Linked DNA regions of Homo sapiens: regions 2 and 3 are each linked to region 1. The links are contacts of gene promoters, found by promoter capture Hi-C in blood cells and fetal thymus (Javierre and others, 2016). All regions are on one chromosome and are shown on one strand. The core of a region is centred on a gene start or on the middle of the fragment in contact, and the rest is flanking DNA. Distances in the headings are between cores, read along the strand shown.

Region 1 (4,157 bases), core at 952-3,451:
TGTTCTTGTGAATTATTAGAAATAATGTAAAGAGGCAACCACGTAAGAGCTGCATACATCATAGATAATAACAAAGAATGCATTTCAGCCCATAGTGCAGTGTGGCTCACAGGGCTCGTGATGACTCATTTTGCCTGTGACATAGCGACTGTAAATCAACATAGCTCACGTACCCTCAGCAGCTATCACTCTGGTGGCAGCTGTGCTTCACATCCCACAGAACACCAGTGCCTTGGGGTACCTAGGCCAGGGCCTGGCACACATTTTTGTTTTAAATACTGAACAGAGGGATATTGAGTCCATCCACAAGTACTGGTTCAGTGTGTCTCCCCACAGCCAACCACCAGTGCCAGTTCATATTGGTGAGACTCAGCAACCAACTTGGTTTGCAAAGTGACCCCATCAGACAGGAAGGACATTGCCTTCCTAACAGCAAATGAGAAACGAGGGAGCCTTGGACTTTTTTTTTTTTCTTTTAATGTTTCATAGCATGACATCCAGGTGGGTCCTGACCTCTGTCAATACCACCTTCCTGAGGTTAGTTCCATTTCCTACTCTGCACCTGATTCCTGCAGCTCCCACCTTCAGTGAGAGGAGGCTACAGTTCTGAAGGAAAAGGCTTGGCATTGAAGCTATGGTCTTCCTGGGCCAGATTCAGGAGGGAATGGAAGAGAACATTCCTTTCAGGACAGGTGGCCAAAGGATAGGAGACAGAGTGGTTCAGCAGGGGGGGTAGGTTGCACAAGGGTGGGGCAAAGGGCACCTCCTGAAAGATGGGAAGTGGGAATGGGGATCTGGCCTGGGGCTGCTGTGGAGCCAGCTGCAGTGCAGGTTGCAGGGGAGCAGGGGCTTCCGCCTTGGGGTTGCTGTCTTGGTCAGCATGGCTCCTGCCTTCGGGGATGTCCAAATCCCACAGAACATCTGGATTCTGGACCTCAGTCTCAGTCTTGGTGACAGCAGGGGCAGGGCCCGTGTTGATGGCTGCATTCATGCCGTAGCGCCGTCGCTTGTTAATCCAGTACAACAATGGGCTGTAGGTGAATGTGGCAGCTCTCATCACCTCCACCCACTGCTGGGCATGCTCTTCCCGCCTCAAGTTCTTCCTCCAGTGCAGAAAGATAATGCACCCTCCAGTTATCACAGAACACAGCCCCAGGATTCCAAAGTACAATGAGACCCACACTAAGGCAGCAAGAAAGAAAAAGAGGCATGCTGGCTGATAGCTGTAGCTTGGGGCCTGAGCTGTTTCTCATTCCTCTTTCACTTAACCCATGCATCAATCGCTCCATCCACTTAACTACTCTCACCGTTCCTTCCCTCCCTTATTGACTTGCCTCATCATTCCCTTATTCAGTCAAAGCTAGATTTCCAGGGAGCTTAAGCACCACCTTTAACTCTTTACAGATCACAAAAGCTAGGTCTAGCGGGGGCATGTGCTGCCCAGGCTCAGTCAAGCCTCTGATTCCTAACCCAGGACCCATCCAATCCATCAGACTGAGAAGTTTCACTATGGGCAAGTCCATCAAGAAGCAAAAGTTCACCAGCACTTTGTGAGGCCCAGGTGGGCAGATCACTTGAGGTCAGGACTTCAAGTCCAGCCTGGCCAACATGGTGAAACCCCGTCTCTACTAAAAATTTTAAAATTAGCCAGGTGTGGTGGTGCATGCCTGCAGTCCCAGCTACTTCAGAGGCTGAGGCAGGAGAATCACTTGAATCCAGGAGGTGGAGGTTACAGTGAGCCTAGATTGAGCCACTGCACTCCAGCCGGGGCAACAGAGCAAAACTTCATCTCAAAAAAAAAAAAAAAAGTGAAAGTTCATCAGTTGACAGAGACACCAATGTCCCATCCCATTCCATTCAGCTGTGATAGTCCTGGGCTATTGATAGTATCTTCTCTGGTTGATCAGAGCATGGTCTTTGCCTTAAAATAATTCTTAGTTTTCTAGAGTAGACTATCTCCTAACTGCTTAGCTCTCCTCCAGGCAGCCAGGCACTGTCCCATCCATGCAAAGGGCCTTCCCTGAGTGTTTGTCCCCAAGCCCTAAGGCACAAGTCCAGTGACAGGGACTGGAGGAGCACTTACTCCCAGGGAAGCGCAGGTCCTCCTGTTGGGAATCCATACAGCTGAGCTTTGGTACCTGGCCGATGGCTCTGGGGAGAGGGAACTCACCCACCCATCTGCCCAGCCAGTCAGCCCATCTGCCCAGCCAATCAGAGTCTCCAGAATGCCCAGGCCCTTTGTTCTCTAAAGGAGAGGTCACTGGGTTCTGAGAATTGGGCATTCTAGGGGCAGTGCTTGTGAAGTGGTCCTGGGTTAATGGAAGGAGGGGACTTCATCCAGTGGCATTTTTTGGGTGGAATGTCACTACTACTTCCATCAGAGACTGGTTCACCTATTGAATTGTCTGTACCTACCCCTTATGGTGAACCCACAGAGCAGACCCCAGAAAAGGGCCATTGTCCCTCAGGTACTTACGGATGTTGCTGGTCTTTAGGGAACGGTTGATGGGATACCTGTCCCCAGTGAGGAATGTAACAAGGAACACACAGCATTGGGCAGCCCTGTTCTCAAAAAGTATCTAACCAAGTTGGCAGGAAGAAACCTGCTCAAGGGAACCAAGTGGTCAATACCTCCTTCTTTGGCTCCAACAATCTGTCTTTTATTTAATTACCTTCCTTCAAGTGCTGACAAGTGTTTCCCAGGCCCCAGGCCCTGTGGGGCTTCCCACCATCTGGCCTGCATCTACTTCCAGCCTTACTTCCCTCCTCGTCCTCCACACACTTTTCCCTTTTGCCTAGTCCGTACTCCTGAACAGACCCTGCTCATTCACATCTCTGGAGGTGTGCCCATGCTGCTCCTTCACCCAGGAGTGCCCCTGCCCACTTTTCCACCACTGAACACCTGCTCATCCTTCAAGACTCAGCTCAGCCCCCCTACTCTGTGACAGACTGCCCAGAATCATATCATCGCCAATTTGAAGAAACTTTGAGAGTTGTCTAGTTCATCTCCACCATCTGATCCCACCATCAGGGCCATGCTTGACTCCTGGGGGTAGATTTTTCCCCACACAGCAACTAATCTCCCTGGACTCAAGACTCACTTGAGTCAGGAACTTGCTCACCACCTCCTGAGGCAGCTTGATGCATTTATGGGCAGCTCAGTTAGAAAGCCCTTCCCTAATTAAGCTTAAGTCAGCCTTCCCAGTATGTTGCACCACTGCTTGTAGCTCAGCTTCTTAGCACCATTTTAATGACTCCCCTCTTTATAGTCCTCCAATGTGTGACTTAGGGAACTATTTAGCACAGAATTCTCTCCAGGGTCCACTTACCCTTGTTCTCCTCGTATATCACTGGCCCCTACTTTCCAGTCTCCTTTGCTGGTTTCTCCCTTTTCCCCTGATCTCTAAATGTAGGCATGTCTAGGGCTCAGTTCTTAGTGCTCTATCTACATTCATTCCATCAGTTATCTCACCCAGACCCCTGGCTTTAAATATCACTATACACTGACAGTACGCAACTGTATCTCTCCAGCCTGGAATGCTCCTCAGAACTTTAGACTCATACCCAAATACCTGGTTGACATCCCTCCTTGCCAGTCTGTTAAATTATCCCAAACCAACATGTCCAAAACCAAACTCTGATTATCCATCCTCCAAAGTCTACCCTACCTACAGCCTTCCTCCTCTTCATAAGTAGTATCTCTGTCCTTCGGGTTGTTCAGGCCAAAAACCTGCAAGTCATCCTTGACTCCTTTCATTCTATCACACCCACACTGACTCCATCAGCAAGATCTTTAGGCTTTTATTTCAAAATATAACCAAAATCTGGCCACTTTTTTTTATCACTATCACTTTAGTCCAAGTACCACCATCTCTCACTTGGATTACTGTTCCCTGTAGGGTGACCAACATCCTGGTTTGCCCAGGACTTGGGGTGGGTTCTCAGGACATGGGGCTTTCAATGCTAGAGCCAAGAAAGTCCTAGGCAAACTGGAATAAATTAGTCACCCTTGGGAGAGTTTCCATCCTTGCCTCCACATATCCTAAATCCCACCAGCAGCCAGCATGATCCTTTTAAAAAGTAGATCATGTTACTCCACTGCTTAAAACATATAGTAACTTCCGATCTCATTCGATTTAAAATCAAAGTCCTTAACC
Region 2 (4,157 bases), core at 942-3,441, 300 kb after region 1:
GCACTTTACATTTCTCTCAGTACTTGGCTCACTCATAATTTACTTATAACTAATTGTAATTGCTTGTAATTTACTTGTAATTACTTGTCTATCTTGCCCACTAGATTGTACATCCCATGAGAACAAGGACTTTTTTCTGCTCTGTTCACCACTCTAGCGTCTACAGTTAAGCCTAGCACATAGGAGGTACTCAAATATATACTAACTACCAAATAGGTACTAAGCATGTTGGTACTTGGGGGTTAGGGATGCAAAAATAAATACCAGCTTACTGTCCCTAACAATTCCTAGTTTGGAGATGGGTAAAGAAGAAAAAGTGGCCATGGAAAGTGCTATATTCATTGTATTATAGAGAAGGTTGGGGAGCACAGAAGAGGATCAACCCAGCTTTAGAAGGATTAGAGAAAGCTTCCAGAGGGGTGGACATTTGAGCTAGCAAGAAAGCACAAGGGAAAAGGCATTTAGACAGAGGAGACAATTTGTCCTGACCCAGAAGCATTGGGGTATGCTATGCATGGATAGACAAAGAATTTGTGCAAAAGGGGAGCAGCAAGGCATGACAGACACAGATAAAACAGCATCAACAACCAGGGATCAGGGCAAAAGTCTGGACTTGATCCTGCTGGCAATGGAGAGAGAACAAAGGATCTTTCTGTAAAAATGGGTTCTCCCTATGTTGCTCAGGCTGGTCTCAAACTTCTGGCTTCAAGCGACCCTCCTGCCTTGGCCTCCAAAAGTGCCGGGATTACAGGCATGAACCACCATGCCCAGCCTAAAGAACAAAGAATTATAAGCAGATGAATGACACTCAGATTTGTGTTACTTACTAACACAAATGACATATGTTAAAATTTTATTTAAATTTACTTAACCATTTCCAAAACTTACTGGCTTAAAACAACCACTACTTTATTTGTTCATGATTCTGGAGGTCAGCGATTTAGGTTGGTCTTGGCTGGGGTCACTCATGCTGTTTGGGTCACCTAACCGTTTAACTGAGCTTAGGAGGTCTAAGACAGCTTCCAGCACATGTCTCCAGCAGATTGGTCCAGGCTTCTTCACAGAGCCGCAGAAGAGCTCCAAAATGAGCGTGGAAGTTGCGAGGCTTCTTGAGGCCTACATGCAGAAGTTGCACAGCATCCCTTCCACCAGACTTTACTGGTCAAAACAAATCATAAGATCAGCCCAGATTCAAGAGGTGGGGAAACAGACTCCATCTCTTAATGACAGAAGCAGCAAAGTCACATTGTACTGGGACAGGATGGGAGGAATTATTGTGATCGGCGATCACACAACAGATAAGGGGTGGCATGAGAGGATGGGGGAGAATGGAAGAATTTAGGGCTGATTGGAGTAATAGAAATGAGTTTTGAGGCTACTGCCTTTGATCAGTGAGAAATGATAAGGCCCTACCTAAGGTAGGAATGCTAGGAAGGAGAGAAATATAAGCGACATTTCAAGAAAGGAATTTCAGATTGTGGCTGGGCGCAGTGGCTCATGCCTGTAATCCTAGCACTTTGGGAGGCCAAGGCAGGCTGATCACTTGAGCTCAAGAGTTCAAGACCAGCCTGGGCAACATGGCGAAACCCCATCTCTACTAAAAATACAGAAATTAGCCAGGCGCGGTGGCATGTGCCTGTAGTCCCAGCTACTCAGTAGGCTGAGGCAGGAGGATCACTTGAGCCTGGGAGGCGGAGGTTGCAGTGAGCCGAGATCACACCACGGCACTCCACCCTGGTGAGAGCCAGACCCTGTCTTAAAAAAAAAAAAAAAAAAAAAAGAAATTTCAGATTGTAACTTTTTGAGTTACTTAAGCAATCTAAGCTTGTTTCCTTCTCTATAAAATGGGACTAAAAAGAGTATATCAGCTGACTCTGGATTTGCTGCCTATGAGTTAGCCTTACTCTGCAAGGAGCAGTACTGTTCAATAAAAGATTGCTGTCTAACACCACTAGCTTGCCCTTGAATTCTTTCCTGGCTTTCTCCCAGGCTAAGCCCCAGTTTTGAGGCTTGCCTGCCCTGCAATAAAAACACACCATAAAAATAGTGCAAAGAAAAGCCACAAAATGGATGAAAATGTTCAAATTAACGAATAACTCTTTCAAAGTTTTATAATAAATAGGCAACAACAAAAAAGAGCATATCCCAGGGTTTCTGTGAAAGTAAGAAACAATGATGTAAGTAAAACAATGCTTTTTTCACATGGGCCTGGCTCAGGTACGTTCGATATACAGTAGTGATTACTGTCACTGCATCAAGGATAGCTGCAGTTTCTGGCATGGGCAGCAGGGTAAAGGGTGGTGTTAAGTTTGGAGATGAAGAATGCAGATGGGAAGAAGGGCAGATTGGCAGGGGTGAGAGTGGTGATTTGAGTTGTTACTGGGGTCTCTGCTTGACCCCCTTGCCTTCCACTAAAGACCCTCAAATCTGAGATCTTCTAATCCAAAGGTTCTTAACTTGGGGGAGATAGGCCTTAGGAAGTACCAAAGCCCCTGAAATTATATGTAAAATGCTATGGTGTTTTTTGTCTTTATTTTTCTGAGAACGGCCAAAGCTTTTACCAGTCTCTCAAACAGATTTGTGACTCCTAAAAGGTGAAAACCATAGATCCAAGCTATCAATGTATATTGACCCATAACTGCCCCAATACCTGACCCTCTGCTGTGGTTCAACTGTTGCAAATCACAAGGAAAGAGGAGCTCATGAACAAGACTGAGGCAATACTGCTAAGCTTCCAGGTCTCTCAATATGATCCCTCCTACATTAAGCCATATTTTGCATTATTATTCTCTGTGGGCTTGGTTCTCTACCCACTTTTTTTTTTTTTTTTTTTTTTTTTGTATTTTTAGTAGAGATGGGGTTTCACCATGTTGGCCAGCCTGGTCTCGAACTCCTGACCTCAGGTGATCCACCTGCCTTGGCCTCCCAAAGTACTGGGATTACAGGCATGAGCCACCATGCCACCATGCCCAGCCAACCCCCTTCTCTTTTTTTAGGGAGACCTCAGATGTACAAAATTGAATTAATCATAATCTTTGTTTATAACATACTTTTATCACTTTTGTCATGAATAACAAATTTTTATGTATAACTTTTTATTAACTTAGCTGCTTTTAATAATTCAATAAGCACCAAACATAAAAGCTAGAGCCTTAACAATAATCTAACTTTATGTTCCCTCCAGCCCCATCCTATCCCCCTACCTCTAAGAACCATTATACTGAATTCCATAGTGAGAACCATTCTTTCCTTCTTACATGGTTTTACTGCATACATGTTCTTTTTACATGTTTTTAAATTCTTAATTGTATTTAATTTTATAGCATCACTACTCATTAGAGAAATGCAAATTAGGACCACAACGAGGTATCAAGATACATCCACTAGAATGAAGTTTTTATTTATTATTTATTTTTGAGACAGAGTCTCCCTCTGTTGCCCAGGCTGGAGTACAGTGGTGCAATCCCAGCTCACTGCAACCTCTACCTCCTGGGTGCAAGTGATTCTCATGCCTTAGTCTCCCAAGTAGCTGGAATCACAGGTATGTGCCACCACACCCGGCTAATTTTTGCATTTTTAGTACAGACGGGGTTTTCCCATGTTAGCCAGGCTGGTCTTGAACTCCTGACCTTAAGTGATCCGCCCGCCTCGGCCTCCCAAAGTACTGGGATTACAGACATAAGCCACACTGCCCGGCCCACTACAATAAAGTTTAACGTTGATAATCCTAAGTGTTAGTACTAAGATGTGGAGCAAATGGACCTCTCATACATTGCTGATGGCCGTGCAAAATGGTAGATCCACTTTGGAAAACAGTATGGTGGTACCTTATAAAGTTAAACATACATTTACCATATGACCTAGCAATTCTACCCCTAAGTATTTACTCAGAAGAAAACATGGGCTGGGCACAGTGGTTCACACCTGTAATCCTAGCACTTTGGGAGGCCGAGGTAGGTGGATCATCTGAGGTCAGGAGTTCGAGACCAGCCTGGCCAACATGGCGAAACCCCGTTTCTACTAAAAATACAAAGAAATTAACCAGGCATGGTGGTGGGTGCCTGTAATCCCAGCTACTCAGGAAGCTGCAGCAGAAGAATCGCTTGAACCTGGGAGGCGGGGGTTGCAGTGAGCTGAGATTGCACCATTGCACTCCA
Region 3 (4,157 bases), core at 748-3,247, 280 kb after region 1:
CCGATCCTACGTTCTATTTACTGAGATAGGAGAAAACCACCTTATGGCTGGAGGTGAGACATGCTGGTGACAATACTGTTGTTTACTGCACTGAGATGCTTGTATAAAGTCAAACATAAATCTGGCCTACATACACATCAAGGCACAGCACCTTTCCTTAAACTTATGACACAGAGTCCTTTGCTCACATGTTTTCCTGTTGACCCTTTCCCCACCATTACCCTATAGTCCTGCCACATCCCCCTCACCGAGATGGTAGAGATAGTGATCAATAAATACTGACGGAACTCAGAGACCAGTGCTGGCGCGGGTCCTCCCTATACTGAGCGGTGGTCCCCTGGGCCCACTGTTCTTTCTCTATACTTTGTCTCTGTGTCTTATTTCTTTTCTCAGTCTCTTGTCCCACCTGAGGAGAAATACCCACAGGTGTGGAGGGGCTGGCCCCCTTCAACATGCAGGGCTACACCCTGGGCTGGCATGCAAGGTGCCTTCCTCATATCTCTCTCCTGTTCCTCTCCACGAAAGTGTGGCTGCAGAGTGCAGCGGGCACCTAGGTTCTAGTTCCAGCTCTGCCCCAACTCAAAAATCACTTGCGGAACATCTGCTGAACACAATTTTCTGTGACTCTTTCTGTCTCCCACCCAGGCACACCCTCCTGAGTCCTGCGGTTCCCAACCTGTAAAGCCTTCCCACCTGTCAGGTCCCACAGATACAGCAAGCCCTCCCTCTCTCAGCACATAAGAAGGCTTTAACTGGGGTCAGTGTTTCACACACCCAGAGGAAAAGCCCCTCTTCAAGCCACATCTTCCAAACCCTCAGCCAGGCCCTTCCACGCCTCCAAACCCACATACTGAGGTGATCCAAAGGCAGCGCAGGGAGAAAAGCTTGTTGACAGACCACCCACGGAGGGCTGGAACTAAACCTGCTCATGGAAAGGGCTTGCCAGGGGTTGGACACCACAGCAGGAGCCAGAGAGACTTCCCTTCTAGCCTGGCTTTGCCAAGATCTCCCTGTGCACTTGGCAGGTTTCTTTCTGGCTCCCTCTTAGGATCCAAATGCACAAATCAAGAAGCTTGAACTCAGCCAGGCGCGGTGGCTCACGCCCAGCACTTTGGGAGGCCGAGGCAGGTGTATCAACTGAGGTCAGGCGTTTGAGATCAGCCTGGCCAACATGGTGAAACCCAGTCTCTACTAAAAATGCAAAAATTAGCCAGGCGTAGTGGCGGGCCCCTGTAATCCCAGCTACTGGGGATGCTGAGGCAGCAAGAATCGCTTGCACCCGGGAGGCGGAGGTTGCAGTGAGCCGAGATCGCACCACTGCACTCTTGCCTGGGAGTCAGAGCGAGACTCCGTCTCAAAACAAAACAAAAAAAAACAAAAAACAAAACTCTAAGCTCTCCAGATCCCCTTGGCCATTACACTCTGCGATTCCAAAGTCCTCAACCCCTGGCATCCCACTGGTTGTCACGCTTGCGTTTTCGCATTCCAATAGGCAGCAATCGTGAGATTCTTTGGCACAAAGCAAAACTCCTCTTTGACCCAGTGAGGGAAAGGCCTTCCACCACCTGCCTTGACACTACCGTTTCCTTTCTTCCCCCGTGCTCTACCTGGCTCAGAAAGTGCGGAATATCTTAGGGCAAGGAGAGATTCTGGAGAGTTACACATCTGCTCTGCCCGCCCCATCCCCTGTCCCTCGGCGGGTCCGGCGGCTGAAAGTGCCGCTGCGAGTACCCTCAGGCCGCGCCCATCCCACTACGCTCCGGCAGTCACCTGGAGCCGGAAGCGCTGCGCCGCCCTGTCCATGTTCTCCAGGCCCGCTCGCTGCCTCTGTCGCGCCCGGACCACCGCGCCCCGCGCCGTCCGGCGCCCGGACCAGCGCAGGGCCACGGCCGCCGCCACGAAGCAGCAGGCCAGGGCGACCCCGGAGGCGCCAGGCAGCGCGGCCCACAGCTCGTACTGCACCATGATCCCTTCAGCCTGCTGCTGCCTACCGCGACAGTTGAAGCCGCCGCACGCGCAGCCCGCCCGCTCCGCCGCAAAACCCGGACTGGATCAGCCGGGATCCCACGCCCGCCTGCGCGGGAGGGGCGGGGAAGCGCGCCAGAGCCTAGAGGCTATCAGAGGCGGCCCGCCTGGCATCGCCCCCAGCGACATCCCGCTCCCCGCCAAGCCGAGCAGGCGGGTGGGGAAGGGCGACTGTTTCTCGTGGGCGACCTCCCAAGCTTGAGTTTAGCACCGGTTGGGCACCACAGCCCCGGCCGTCCTCTGCCCCCTGCACCCCAGAGCCCCAAATGCTGAAGACTGCGCCCCAGCCGGAGCCCCATGCCAGACATGCCAGCTGTTAGATATGAGTTCTAAATTTATCTTAAAAGAATCAATATGTCAGTATCTTCAATTCTTTGCCTTCTACTTTTAAACTTAACTTCCTCATAAAGCAACATTTTTCGATTACCTGCTCCTCCCTCACTCATTCTTCACCGTGGTTCATTCCGATTTCCTGCTCTGCGGTAACCATTTTTCCCGCCAAACCACTCACCCCCTCACTGTCTTTAAATTAGCCAATCGGAATTAGTTTAGCCTATAGGTCTAACCCTAGCCAACAGGGGAAGGACACAGCATCAGGAATCACGTGGGTCAGGCATAAGAACCACCTTCCCCTCCCTTGTCCAGGTGTGCGCTCACCTTTGCTCCGTCTGTGAGGGCGCACCCTTCTATAGAAGTAAATTGCCTTGCTGAGAAGAAAAAAAAGAAAATTTTATATTCGAGTGCTATTTCTTTTGCGGCACTGGGGGGAAACTTTATTTATAACAATTTGGGGGCTTGCTCGTGATTACATTCCCCTTCAGGGGCAGTCTCTGGTTCTCTCTCCTGAGGAGGTATGCCCCACCCTCTTGTGATGGCCTCAGGGGTGAGAAATCAGGACTCACCCAGTGCAAGAAATAACCTGAGCTCTCAGCAATGTGAAAAGAAACCAGCAGGCAACCTAGGGTAAAGCATCCTCACACACTGCAGAGACAACTCTGTGCACAGACAAAGGAAGAAGCCGAGGGAGCCGGTAAGGTACTTCCTTGGTGGTCAAATTCTGGAGGGCTAAATGTGTGTGTGCGTGAATGATCACAAACAACCCTACCTGTGGTGTTGTTCGTGTGGATGATGACAAGTCCTACTGCTGGACGGAGTGAGTGGGTCCTCTCCACGTTTCCGTAGCTACCTCATATGGCTTAGGGAGGATCCTGCGGTGGGATTTCTACTGGAATGCCAATGCTGAGGGGGGCCTAATTCTCCCTTGGGGGAGCAGCCAGAGAGGACAACACGAGTGGGAAGTGTGCAAAGGACCTTCAGAGGGGGAAAGGGAGGAAACAGGTCAACCTTCCAGGGAAGCAAGGCAAGACACCTCCTAGTTTGAGGGATTGAGCCTTCCAGGGCAGCAAGGCAAAACACCCCCTGGTTTGAGGGGTTGAGCCTTCCAGGTCAGGCAAGGCAAGATACCCCCTGGTTTGAGGTGTTGAGCCTTCCACAAATTTCAGGGGATCAAAAACCTCACACAAACCTCCGGTAGTAAGAAAAATATTCAGAATTCCCCTTTCCTTTCTTCTCGGGGAAGAAAAAGTAGCTGCACTCCTGACGGTCCCTTCCCTAGGGGAAGGGGAAGGAGAGGGGAGAACAGCAGCATAAGCAGCTGGCAGAGGCAGGGAAAGACCAGCAGAGAGGAAAGAGAAACTGGGAGAGGAAGTTGGAGAGAAAGAGAGAGGCAAAGAGAGAGAAAGAGAGGCAGAGAGAGAAAGAGACAGAAAGACAGAAGCCAGGCGTGGTGGCTCATGCCTGTAATCCCAGCACTTTGGGAGGCCAAGGCCGGTGGATCACGAGGTCAGGAGATCAAGACCATCCTGGCTAACACCGTGAAACCCCATCTCTACTAAAAATACAAAAAAATTAGCCAGGCGTGGTGGCGGGCGCCTGTAGTCCCAGCTACTCAGGAGGCTGAGGCAGGAGAATGGCGTGAACCTGGGAGGCGGAGCTTGCAGTGAGCCGAGATCGCGCCACTGCACTCCAGCCTGGGTGATAGAGCTAGACTCTGTCTCAAAAGAAAAAGAGAGAGAGAGAGGGAGTCAGAGACAGGGAAAGAGAGAGAGAGTCAAAGAGAGAGAGAGAGAAAG

The links. Contacts are between HindIII fragments. The CHiCAGO score rates a contact against its expected background, and 5 or more counts as called.
Region 2: a fragment that was not itself captured here is called in contact with the fragment with the promoter of TEX38 in region 1 in 1 of 17 cell types (erythroblasts); the score reaches 5.1 in erythroblasts.
Region 3: a contact is called between the fragment with the promoter of FAAH here and the fragment with the promoter of TEX38 in region 1, in 6 of 17 cell types (erythroblasts, M0 macrophages, monocytes and 3 more). The highest score is 12.0, in erythroblasts.

What each region holds. Positions count from the first base shown.
Region 1 is chr1:46,669,898-46,674,054 of GRCh38, reverse strand. It overlaps TEX38 (testis expressed 38), which reads right to left and starts at 2,201. Exons shown (of 2, transcript NM_001145474.4): 1 at 2,084-2,201; 2 at 461-1,182. The coding sequence starts at 2,120. The coding sequence ends at 599. EFCAB14-AS1 (EFCAB14 antisense RNA 1) reads right to left here and starts at 19. Exons shown (of 3, transcript NR_038828.1): 1 at 1-19. The HindIII fragment of the contact is 3,767 bases long and covers 1-3,188 here.
Region 2 is chr1:46,365,387-46,369,543 of GRCh38, reverse strand. It overlaps a transcript of NSUN4 not described here. Among named protein-coding and RNA genes, the nearest start is that of NSUN4, 27 kb to the right of the region's middle. The HindIII fragment of the contact is 730 bases long and covers 1,827-2,556 here.
Region 3 is chr1:46,392,157-46,396,313 of GRCh38, reverse strand. FAAH (fatty acid amide hydrolase) reads right to left here and starts at 1,997. Exons shown (of 15, transcript NM_001441.3): 1 at 1,771-1,997. The coding sequence starts at 1,965. RefSeq lists an enhancer at 1,596-2,109. The HindIII fragment of the contact is 1,150 bases long and covers 1,075-2,224 here.